Linked DNA regions of Homo sapiens: region 1 is linked to region 2. The links are contacts of gene promoters, found by promoter capture Hi-C in blood cells and fetal thymus (Javierre and others, 2016). All regions are on one chromosome and are shown on one strand. The core of a region is centred on a gene start or on the middle of the fragment in contact, and the rest is flanking DNA. Distances in the headings are between cores, read along the strand shown. Region 1 overlaps ZNF772 (zinc finger protein 772). Region 2 holds the start of ZNF468 (zinc finger protein 468).

What was found. Contacts are between HindIII fragments. The CHiCAGO score rates a contact against its expected background, and 5 or more counts as called.
Region 1: a fragment that was not itself captured here is called in contact with the fragment with the promoter of ZNF468 in region 2 in 1 of 17 cell types (total CD4 T cells); the score reaches 5.0 in total CD4 T cells.

Annotation. Positions count from the first base shown.
Region 1 is chr19:57,469,390-57,475,582 of GRCh38, forward strand. It overlaps ZNF772 (zinc finger protein 772), which reads right to left. Exons shown (of 4, transcript NM_001144068.2): 4 at 197-5,032. The coding sequence ends at 3,885. Among named protein-coding and RNA genes, the nearest start is that of ZNF772, 5.1 kb to the right of the region's middle. The HindIII fragment of the contact is 6,834 bases long and covers 998-6,193 here.
Region 2 is chr19:52,855,005-52,861,288 of GRCh38, forward strand. ZNF468 (zinc finger protein 468) reads right to left here and starts at 2,615. Exons shown (of 4, transcript NM_001008801.2): 1 at 2,568-2,615. It also overlaps a transcript of ZNF320 not described here. RefSeq lists an enhancer at 2,214-2,293. The HindIII fragment of the contact is 10,660 bases long and covers 1-4,617 here.

The sequences.
Region 1 (6,193 bases), core at 3,165-5,664, 4.6 Mb after region 2:
TTCCAAGTAACTTAACCATGTAACAGAAAAAAGAAATCAAGAATATCTATAGAAAATTAAAAAAAAATCAGTACCTAAAATTCAGTGTCCATTCAAAATTAAACCATGTTAACAGTATCAGACAAGGGAGATTTTAGAGAAAGAATATTACCAGAGATTAACAGGATCATAATGATAAAGTGGTCAACACATCAAGTGGACATAAAATAGGAAATATTTATTATTCACCTAATAAAAACATACTAAAATATGTGAAGCAAAATCTGACAGAACTGCAGAGAAGTAAATCCAATTTAATATTCAGAGATGTCAACAATCCTCTTAAAATAATTGCTGGAACCAAAACCACAGAATGTCAATAAAGATAGAAAAAACTTAAATAACATCAACCATTTTTACCTAATCAACACTTGTAGAACCCCTTCATCAAACGAGAGTACAGTATACATTTCAAGTGAACATGTAACTCATACCAAGATAGCCCATATTCTGGGCCACAAAGCAAATCTCAATAAATGTAAATAATTCAAGTCTTAATGTACTCTGACCACAATGGAATTATTGCAGAAACTACCAGAAAGATAAGCAAAATCCCCAAATATTTAGGAATTAAATAACATACATTTAAAAAGAGCCATGTGTCAAGAAGAATTTTTTTAACTGGAAAACATCCTAAACTCAACTAAAATGAAACCACATCGGCTGGGCTCACGCCTGTAATCCCAGCACTTTGGGAGGCTGAGGCAGGCGGATCACAAGATCAGGAGATCGAGACCATCCTGGCTAACACGGTGAAACCTCGTCTCTACTAAAAATACAAAAAATTAGCCAGGCATGGTGGCAGGCGCCTGTAGTCCAAGCTACTCGGGAGGCTGAGGCAGGAGAATGGTGTGAACCCAGGAGGCAGAGCTTGCAGTGAGCCGAGATCGCGCCACTGCACTCCAACCTGGATGACAGAGCAAGACACTGTCTCAAAAAAAAAAATGAAACCACATCAAGCTTGATGGGAGGTAATTAAAGCAGTTCTCAGATAGATTTTTAACATTAACATCTCTTCCCCATATTAGGGGAAAAAAACCCAAAGGTTTGAAATGAAGGACCTCAGCTTCCATGTTAAAAAGTAGCAAAAGAAATGAAATCCAATAAAAGCGGAAGGCATTAGTAAAACTCAAAATGGAAAAGAAAAATCCCAAAATATCAGAAAACAGAAAATTCAATAATACCAAGTACTTTAAGATCAATAAAATTGTAAAATTGATAAATCTCTACCCAAACCAATCAAGGTTAAAAGAAAAATATAGACATTACCAGTATCAGGAATAGAAGAGGTTGCACCACTACAAATTCTACAAGTATGAAAATAATATTTTGAAAAATTTGAGTACTTAAATAAAACAGAAAAACTCCTTGAAAGACACAAACCATCAAAGCTCACTCTAGAGATAGATGGATGGATGGAGTGACAAACAGATGGACGGACAGACAGATGTATATATAACTAGTATAGCCCTCCATCTACCATGGAAATCAAACTTGTAGTTAGATGCTGTCCTACAAAACACACTTCAGGGCCAGAGTGACAGACAGACAACACACACACAGACAGATGTACATATAACTTGTACAGCCCTCTATCTACCACAGAAATCAAACTTATAGTTAGAAACTTTCCTACAAAACAAACTCCAGGCCCAGACAGCTTCCTTGGTGAATTCTACCAAACATTTAAGGAAGAAATAATACCAATTATTCACAAACTCTTCCAGAGAGCTGAAGAGCAGGAATACTTCCCAACTTACTCTATAAAGCTGGCATTATGCTGATACCAAAGCCAAACCTGGGCAAGATATAAAATTACAAAGAAAAAAAAGCAAGCAAGCAAGAAAGAAAGTTAGGGACAAATATCACTCGTGAACATTGGTGCAAAACTTGTTACAAAAAAACAAAACAAAACAAAACAAAATAGCAAATCAAATTCAACAATATACTAAATGACTAATACATCATGACCAAATGGGAATTATTACAGAAATGCAAGGTTGGCTTAACATTTAAAAAAATCAGTCAATGTAATTCATATTAAACAACTAAAACAGAAAAAGAAAAAAACCATATAGGATTATGGTCACCAGAGTCCAAGAAAACGCCCCACAAATCCCTATTTTCACCTTTGTGTAGTTCTCTTCCACTTTTAACCAGGATTAGCTAGGGTTACTTATGAAATATAGCAGAAATGACGGCTCATCACTTTCAGTTTAAGGTAATGACAGATACTGTGGCTTTGTTCTTGTGTGAGTTCTCTCCTGGATCACTTGCTTTGAAACTATTTCTCTACAATGGAACACTCTTAGCAAAGTACAAATGAAAAGAAATGAACTATGAAACACAGAACACCACCATGAGCCTTAATTTCAGAGTTTAAGAAGCCAAAAACATTAGAATACATATTAAATTACTCTATCTCTGTAGAATTCTAGGAAATACAAACAAATCTACAGTGACAACGGATCAATAGTTGCCTGGGGATGGGTGAAGGAAAGGGAGAAAATATAAAAGGAATCAGGAAACTTTTGGTTTGAGAAGTGCCAACATGTATCAAAACTTATCAAATGGTACACTATAAATATGTGCAGTTTATTGCAAAAATGTTTAGACTGACTTCTGGACAGTAACCTTAGCCATAAGAGACACAGGTATGGAAATATTTCTGTAAACCCTCATAATGGAGCCAGAGTAATGGAAACACATGTGGATGTACCTTTAGAAGGGTCATATTCCCTATAGTTTGCTGCAGTTTTCTCATTCCTTTATTAATCTGGGTTTCTGCACCAACTATGATTCCTACCTGGGCCTTCTGGAGGACAGCCAATATCAACTGCCTACTGAAAAATAGACTTCAGAGATCTTGACATGTCCACTGAGTTCAAATTCTCCTCAAGAAGCCTTGGGAATATGAAGTATCTTCTGGGAACAAGGGACGTAATTCATGTTGCTCCCAGACACATTAGAGATTATCACAACAAATGCCCACTGCTTAGGGTGACCTCAATTACACAAAAAATCTTAACATATAGACCAAAAGATTAGGCCTACAAAGACTGGCATTCTTTCCTAGGAGAGCTGAAGCAGTCAAGTAAGTTAGCTTGACACTAGCATAAGAGCTAGTCTTTGCCATCCTACTATCACTTCAGAGATACAGATAGTTGGAGCTCTCACAAAAGCTGTTCTTCCCTTCATACTGGCTTAGCTCAATTCTGTTCTCAACCCAACCCACAAAGCGAACAGAATCCTCAAGATTTCAGATAGTCTAAAAATTAAGGCATTTGTTGCAAAACCAGAATATGAGGCAGCCAATTTCAGGTCAGGTGTCTTGAAGGCTAGAAAAATTCGTCCCAAGTGCCATGTGAGATCAACTATATCCATGAAGGGAAACCTCTGCCAGTGGTCAGCAGAACAAAGCTCCCATTTTTCTGGCTAAAACTGGGTCATGCTCATGCTTAAACCAGTAGTGGGGCAGAAAAAAAGTGAGAATCCTTGATGGCCTCAGGCTACTGATGATTCCCTCCAGGGAAGGGAATAGTACAGAGGTCTGTCTTTTGAAACACATTGGGGTTACTTTGGCACAAGGCAGGACTCTTCCAGCACAAAGACAGATGGCTTCTAACAGGCACTGCCTTGACGAAATTCCAGCAAGAGTCTAGAAAATTCAGCATAGCTCCAGAAGGCTTCCCATATAGCTGGCACTCGGAAGAACCTCCCCAGGGTGAGTGTTTGAGTGTATAAAGTTCTACTTCTGGCTGTCGGCTACACATAAAGGCTATGCTTGGAGCTTCTCTCTGATGTCAGTTATTATGTTGAACAAGGAAACGGAATTATCTCCCATCCTAAGGCCTTTCTCCAGTGTGAATTTTCCAGTGGCGGATGAGGGAAGCCCTCTGCCTGAAGGCCTTCCCACATTCACTGCACTTATATGGCCTTTCTCCAGTGTGAATTCTATGATGCTGAACAAGTACATGTTTGTGGCTAAAGGCTTTTCCACATTCACTGCACACATAAGGCTTTTCACCATTATGAACTCTTTGATGTGCAATAAGGTCAGAGCTTTGGCTAAAGAACTTCCCACATGCGATGCACTCATAAGGCCTTGCTCCAGTATGAACACTCCAATGTTTAATGAGTCTGTATTTGTGACCAAAGTATTTTCCACATTCGCTGCACTCATATGGCCTTTCTCCAGTATGGATACTCTCATGCTGAACAAGTGTAGATTTGTGACTATAGGCTTTCCCACATTCACTGCACTTGTAAGGCCTTGCTCCAGTGTGTACTCTTTGATGTACAATAAGGTTAGAGCTATGATTAAAAACTTTCCCACATATGCCACACTCATAAGGCATTTCTCCAGTGTGGATTCTCTGGTGCTGAGCAAGTATGGGTTTGCGGCTAAAGGTTTTCCCACATTCACCGCACTCATAAGGCCTTTCTCCAGTGTGGACTCTCTGGTGTTGAACAAGTGAGTCTTTGCGGCTGAAGGTTTTCCCACATTCACTGCATTTGTAATGCCTTTTTCCACAGTGAGAGGCCTCCTCACACTTGGTGTTGCTGTGTGGCTTCCACTCATTGTGAGGGGCATGGTGCTCGAAAATGCTTGAGCTGGCTAGGAAGTCCTTACAAGCCTCCCCTGTCACAAAAGACATCTCCATTGATTGCACAGCACAGTTGTTCAGAAGAAAGGGCCTGCTCTTATCACTTCTAAAGGGTTTCTCTCCACTGTGCTGCTTCTGGTGCTGGTGAAGGTTTGCACTGAAGCAGAACTGTTTCCCACACAGCACACACATGTATGGTTTCTGCCCTGGGTGTGTTTCCTGGTGCTCAGCCAAGTGCAAAATGTCTTTTAAGACCAGGCCACATGTCCCACAGGGGTAAGCCTTCTGAGTAGAAGGACCTCCCTTGGGAATCCTGATCTGTGACATTCCTATAGAAAAGCTCTGCTCAAAAGGTATCTCTTCATCCTCCATTCCATGCCAACAACCTGAAAGCAGAGAAATGCTGGTGAAGTACAAATTGACACAGGTGGAAGAGGGGAAGCCTCACTACAAATATGTGTCTAACACAACTAAGACCAAGGTCATAGGACTGTTGTTAGGACAAGGGTCCAAACTCAAGTTCAGCAAATGTGTACTATACGGTAGTTGGCATCTAAATGTCATAGAATGGAGAAGGCCTCAACTGGGAGAGGACAAAGATGTGGGGTACAGCACAAAAAAGAGGCAGGTCTCAAAGTCATTCACAATCAGATTTTCTTGGCTGCTGGGGACAGGTGAGAGTTGTGCAGAAGGTTATGGTCCATACCAAAGAAAATCAAATTGCTACTCAGTAGTTGGTGTTTAAGGACTATTTGGGCTACACATCTCATGAAACACTAAGTACAGGCCAATGCTGGAAGGCACTGTAGAACAAGCCATGGAGAGGAACAGGTGAGACATGAAGGCAGAGGTATGGAACATCCAGAGGCCAAAGGCCAGAGTATGAAAGGCCAGTGGCCTTAGCACTAATACAACTGTAGGCACAAAGAGGCTATGGAATGATATGAACCCAGCCCTGACATCACACCTTTCCCCAGCTCCTACTCACCAGGGTCACTCCCACCTGGAGTCTCTGTGGCAACAGCTAGGGTCATGTCCACCCAGTCAGGTACCCAGGGCTCACTACCCATCACCAGTGAGGCAACTATGTGGGACATGAAAGATGTATGTCCTAAGGGAAAGATAGAACAGCACTGGTCTGGGTAACCCATATAGAAAACTAAATATTATTAAAATAATCTCAGAGTAAGGTCTTGCAGGAATAGTGCAGTGGTCCTAGCAAGTAGCGACCATAATGGTCCCTACAATTCCTGACATAGGCAGGCCACAGGAAATGTCAGCTAAAGGAAGAGCGCAGAATCCCAGGCACAGAGGTGTCATGGATACAGACAGAGGAATTCAGACAGGGAAAGGACAAGATGGATATGACCCACTGGGCTGACAATACAATGCATAACTCCTGAATCCATGCCTGCAAGGCTCTGAGACAGCAAGCGCTGGGAATGCTCAAAAGGAGAAAGTAGGAGTGCAAACAGCCCAAGCCCAGCACTCACAGAACCTACTCCAGGCACTAAGAAATGAGACAGTGTCCACGGCTCTGATGTAGG
Region 2 (6,284 bases), core at 1,365-3,864:
ATAAAATAAAATACAAATACAAAATTAGCAGGGTGTGGTGGCACACACCTGTAATCTTAGCTACTTGGGAGGCTGAGGCACAAGAATTGCTTGAACCCAGGAGATACAGGTTGCAGTGAGCCAAGATCACAAGACTGCACTCACAGCCCGGAGGACAGAGTGAGAGTCTGTTTGAAAAAAAAAAAAAAAGTGCATTTCTGATGGGATTGACACAGAGATAAGAAGACTTGAGTAATGCCATAGACACTGATGGGTAGAGGGAACTTCAGATGGGGGTGGGAGGGCATGGGAGACAGCTCTGAGCCTAGACCTGAAGGAGAAAGGGACAGTGCCATCTTCATTTAGAAACATTGAATAAGAGCAGGGACAACAACCTGAGACAGGAAGGATTTTGATGTTTGAAAAAAGAGAAAAGCAAATGTGACTGGGGCAGAGGGAGTCAGATGAGGGTAAGCTCCCAGGAGGAGGCTGGACACTGGCAGGGACCCTGAACACAGGGCTGTGGAGCCAAAGTGAAGAGTCGGGCTTTTGTCCTGGGGAACACGGGAAGCAGGTGGAGGGTTCCCTGCCAGGCACTGACATGACCTGCTTTAGATGTAGCTGTGATATTCTAATACAGACAAAGGCCTCCAAAGATCCTCTCTGTTTCTGAGTCTACCGCTCTGTTTCTTCCATTCTTCTGCTTTTTTTTTTTTCATTTTTGGGGTACTGCATCCCACTGAAAATTCTAATTACAACTGGGCACTCTCCTCTACCAGAAAAAAAGCCACACCCAGACACCGCCTCTATTTTGCCAATCATTTCAGGGGTCAGGATCACTCAGGTTGAGCTTTTCTGGTCTAGCCCTTCGTCGCAAAGATGCAGGGAGGTTCACTGGGGCTCAGAGCTGGAAACATTTTCACGAAGTTACCCTGAGAAGGTCTGAGATGAGTGAGAAGGTGTGCCTGAATTCTTACATGGGGGCCTGGAAGGGCTAATGGGATGGGTTGGTCTTATCATCCCATTCTTAAAATTAGAGAAGCATTTTTCACATGCCTGGGTTAAAGAAAATTCTTTTGAAAGGTTCTGATGAAATTGACTCCCAACATTGAATTCTTCCTTACAAGAAAATCACACTAACATTTATAAAATGCAGCAGTGTAAACACACAGCTCTTGACCTTGAAAACAGGGAAACAGGGTCAGCTGTAGAACCAAGACATAAGCAAATTATTTCAATCAAGAAATACATGGGTGGACAGCTGAGGTGGTTCACACCTGTAATTCCAGCACTTTGGGAGGTGGAGGTGGGTGGATTACCTGAGGTCAGGAGTTTGAGACCAACCTGGCCAACATGGTGAAACCCTATCTCTACTAGAAATACAAAAATTAGCTGGGCTCCATCCTTGCAACTTATTTAACCTCCTGTTGGTCCTTCTCCCCAATCTTTAGATCGTCCTCAATCTCCATAGATTTCTGCCTCTTCTCCCATCTATGCGCCTCCTCTGCTCTCCCTGTTAAATTCTCTCTTCTCTGTTATAACCCCCTGGACCCAATCTGGCACCCCAGATCCCCAGGTGTCCTCCCCGCTGTGCTTCTCCCTCTGTTCTCCTTGCCACCAGCACCACTCTGCTCTGTCTGACCCGGCTCCACATCCCTCCTCCTCTCCCTCACTCTGATGAGCCTCCACATTTCTGCCCCTCTCCCTACCTTGCTGTCCTTCATCTCTCTGTACATCTAGCTTTTCTCTACATTTCTCCAGTTGCTTTTCTCCTCCTGCTTTCTTATCTTTTATCACTTTTGCTGTCTCTTGGCAAATCCCTCACCCATCCTCTACTTTGCCATCTGTTATGGGTCTTTCTCATTCTTCTTTTCTCTGTCTCAGGTTTTCTACTGCTCTCTCAGTCCCTCTCTCTGTCTCCTGATCCCTTTGGCCCACACGATCACAAGAGGGTTTGGAGTAAGACGCCTGCATCTCGGAGAAGCGCATTTTCCAAGTGCTGGAGCTGGGCGGGCAAGAACACCCCGCGTCACAGGACAAGCCCCAGGCACCTCTCCAACGAGGGCTCAGGGGACGCGGTGACTGCGGAGGGGAGATCTGGGGAGCAGCAGGGCCCAGCAAGAGGAGGAGGGAGGTGGGGAGCGACGACGCCTTCGGACAAGGGTGGGATCCGCAGGATCCCAGGACCACAGAACGCAGCCTTCCCGGGACTGGGGTCGCCGCGCTGTGCTCCAGGAACCCAGGAGAGTAAGGCTGGGAGGCGCACAGGGTGGGAATACACCTCTAGGGTGAGGACTTTAAAAAGAGCCGTGCGGAAGGAGTCAAAAAACGGTTTTGAGCAGGAAAACTACGCGATAGGAAACGTATACATTGCCCTATGGCAGAAAGACCCGGGACGGGACCAGCCTCAGGGCGACTTTAAACCTAAAAAGAAGGGGCTTCCGGACTCCCAGTAGAACATCTCCATTTGCTCTGAGTGAAGGAAGAAAGGCGAGAACTTCCAGGTCTATGGGGACCCCACATCCCATGTACAGAAGTGCCGGGGACCTGGGAAGCTCAGACTTAACACCACACAGAGCAAAACTCACCGCCCGCCGCGGCGTGACCGTCATTCCACGGGATCCACTTCCTGGTCTGCGCGAATCTGCGCGCGCAGGACAGAAACCAGGCCTGGGTGGAGCCAACGAGGAGGCGAGCGGGGCCCGGGTGAGGTGTGGGCGGGGCGCGAAGCGGCGAGACCTTGCCCTTTAGAACCCGCAGAGGGCGGGGCCGGAGCGGGACCTGTGCATCTCTCAGCCTCCTCCCAACCCGTTCTCCGGGTTTTGGCGGCGAGAGCCCCCAGGAAGGCAGACGGATAATTCAAAAGCCCTGGAATAGTCTGGAAGGAGGATGCAAACTAGAATGTAAAATGCAAAGCCCTTTCTGGGCGGAACGTAGGATTTCATGCTGATGGCCCACAGGACAGTATAGAAATCTTCTCCCTTTCTATTCTCCATTCACTCAGGAGGGAGAGTCCACCCAGTGCTCAGCTTCAGAGACATCCCTAGGGCCACAGCCTGGGATGCCAGACGGAGTGCTCAGGCCAGGGAGGAGTGAGGTCACCACCTGCTGCTTAAACACAGCAGGGATGCGGGCGTGGGAGCCTGAGGTCCCAGCTACTCAGGAAGCAGCGGCGGGAGGATCGCTCAGCCTGGGGGTCCAGGACAGCCTGCGCGACAATGTAACATTCCCTCCCGCAGTCTCTCTCTTTTTTAAATTTTTAAAATAAAATTTTTATTAGGCCGGGCACGGTGACTCACGCCTGTAATCCCAGCACTTTGGGAGGCTGAGGCGGGCGGATCACGAGGTCAGGAGATCGCGACCATCCTGGCTTACACGATGAAACCCCGTCTCCACTAAAAATACAAAAATTAGCCGGGCGTGGTGGCGGGCGCCTGTAGTCCCAGCTACTCAGGAGGCTGAGGCAGGAGAATGCGGTGAACATGGGAGGTGGAGCTTGCAGTGGGCCGAGACCGAGCCACTGCACTCCAGCCTGGGCGACAGAGCCAGACTCCCTCTCTAAAAATAAATAAACAAACTAAATTTGCTTGTGTGAGATAGGAATACAACATTACTCTTCTCCATATGGATATCCAGTTAGTTGTCCCAGCACATTTGTAAAAGAGATCTGTTACTTTCTCCTTTTTATTTACATTTTTTCTTTTTCTTCTTCTTCTTCTTTTTTTTTTTTTTTTTGAGACTGAGTATTTCTCTGTCGCCCAGGCTGGAGTACAATGGTGACATCTCGGCTCACTGCAGCCTCTGCCTCCTGGGTTGAAGCGATTCTTCTGCCTCAGCCTCCGGAGTAGCTGGCATTACAGGCACACCCACCATGCCCGGCTAATTTTTGTATTTTGGGTACAGACGGGGTTTCATCATGTTGGACAGGCTGGTCTCGAACTCCTGACTTCAAGTGATCCGCCTGCCTCGGCCTCCCGAAGTTCTGGGATTACAGGCGTGAGCCACTGTGCCTGGCCCAAGAAATACTCTTTACTTCGCTTTTTAAATGTTGAAAAAATACAATTGAAAACTAAAAAATCTTCCCCAAAATGAGAAATCATCTTCATGACAAAACAGGAAGAAATAAAAACCATTTTATTAGTAAATAAGCCTTAGACCAGAATGTGTTGGGAAATACAGGCAAAGAGCTGAGAGGTTGAAAAGAGAGAAACTTCACTGCTCTATACAACCCATTAAGTACATGTTTTCAAGATAAACACTAATCAGTCCTCAGGGAAGAGGACTTGACAAGTCTTTGGTCGCACATAGTTCATCCTGGCTCTACTTGGTAATGGAGGTGACCATCTGTGTCAGCTAACTAGCTTCATGCAGAAGGAGGGGAAATACATTAACCCACGTCTTTTTGACAAGTGTGAGTTTTACGACATGGCGACAGGTGCCCTCTCTAGTGAGGCTCCTACAATCTGACGGAAACTGACGTCAGCAGTAAATAATAAAATTCAGAATACACGATTAATTATAGAGTTTATTGGAACACAAAGTTTGAGGATAGCCATCTGGAAACATCAACTCCAAATGAAGGGGGCCCGTGTTCCCATGTAGAGATGTTAAGGTTTCACACACAGGGAAAGACAGAGAAGCTTTAGCAGAATCAACACATTTTCCATTCAAGACCAGTGCATAGGCTGCGGCAGCTTGACTGGTGATGGATTGATACACTTCAAGGAAGGTTACTTTATCACTCCGTAAGAAGGGACAATGATGCCAAAAGGTCTTATCTCTGGGGCTGGGTAGTCTTCCTACTTACAGGTAAACTGTTTTTTTTTAAATTGATATTAGGAAACTAAATTTTATTGCACTACACGCTACCAGTTACAAAGTAGGGTGTCCTCATAAACAAAGGAAATGCCTCCTCTTTAAGTTTTTCTTTCTTTTTTTTTTTTTTTTGAGACGGTGTATCGCTCTGTCACCCAGGCTGGAATGCAGTGGCGCAATATCCGCTCACTGCAAGCTCCGCCTCCCGGGTTCACGCCATTCTCCTGCCTCAGCCTCCAGAGTAGCTGGGACTACAGGCGCCCGCCACCACGCCCGGCTAATTTTTGGAATTTTTAGTAGAGACGGGGTTTCACCGTGTTAGCCAGGATGGTCTCGATCTCCTGACCTTGTGATGCTCCCGCCTCGGCCTCCCAAAGTGCTGGGATTACAGGCGTGAGCCACTGCACCTGGCCTGTTTTTCTTACATAGGCGCCTAGGTAAAAACTAAGATATGTCTACCTGCCGGTCTGCTGACAGTCTAACAAAACTTATTATTTTGTTGATTTAAAGCTATCCTTAGGCGGTCCCGGTGGCTCACTCCTGCAATACTAGCAATTTGAAAGGCTGTACCAGGGGGATCACCTGAGGTAAGGAGTTCCAGACCAGTCTGGACAACATGGTGAAAGCCAGTCTTTACTGAAAATGCAACAATTAGCCAGGCCTGGGGGCACATGTCTGTAATCCTAGCTCCTCAGGATGCTGAGGAAGTAGAATCGCTTGAACTTGGGAGGCGGGGGTTGCAGTGAGCCAAGATTGTGCCATTGCACTCCAGCCTGGATGACAAGAGTGAAACGGCATCAAAAAAAAAAAAAGAAAAAGAAAAAAAAGCTATTCTTGGTATTTTAGTGTGCAAGTACTTGAAAGCATGACTGTAATTATTTTAGAAGCATAGATTGTCATGGGATATTGAGTCATCTGGACATTGTTTTTCTGTAGGAGTTTGTTCTTGCAGGTACTATTAAGCTGCTTTCCTTAACTGTAAACATCTTAAGATCATGACTCATGCGTGAGCAGTAAGGACTACGTCTTGCTAGTTTTAGTAGACTAAAACTTTGTCATTCTAGCTCTCCTAGGATCCTGTTTAACAGTTTTTCCACTCATGCACCACAGCGTTCTAAGCACAATTATGGAGACACCACTCTTTTGTAATGCACTGACACCATGTCACTGCACTTTAGTCTGGGCGACAGAGTGAGATTCCGTCAAAAACAAACAAACAAACAAACAAACAAAACAAAAACGAAAACTCATCCAAATCAGAAAGAAAGAAATAAAATTGTATTTGTTTGTAGATGACATGATCTTCTGTGGAAAAAATCCAAAGAGTCAACCAAAATACTACTGGAACTAATAAACACATTCAGTGGATTTGCAGAATACAATATCAGCAGCAAAAATTAGTTGAATTTCCATACATTAACAATAAACAATTTTAAAAGAAAATTAAGAAAACCGTTCCATTTGCTAGAGAAATTTAAGTAAGAAATACT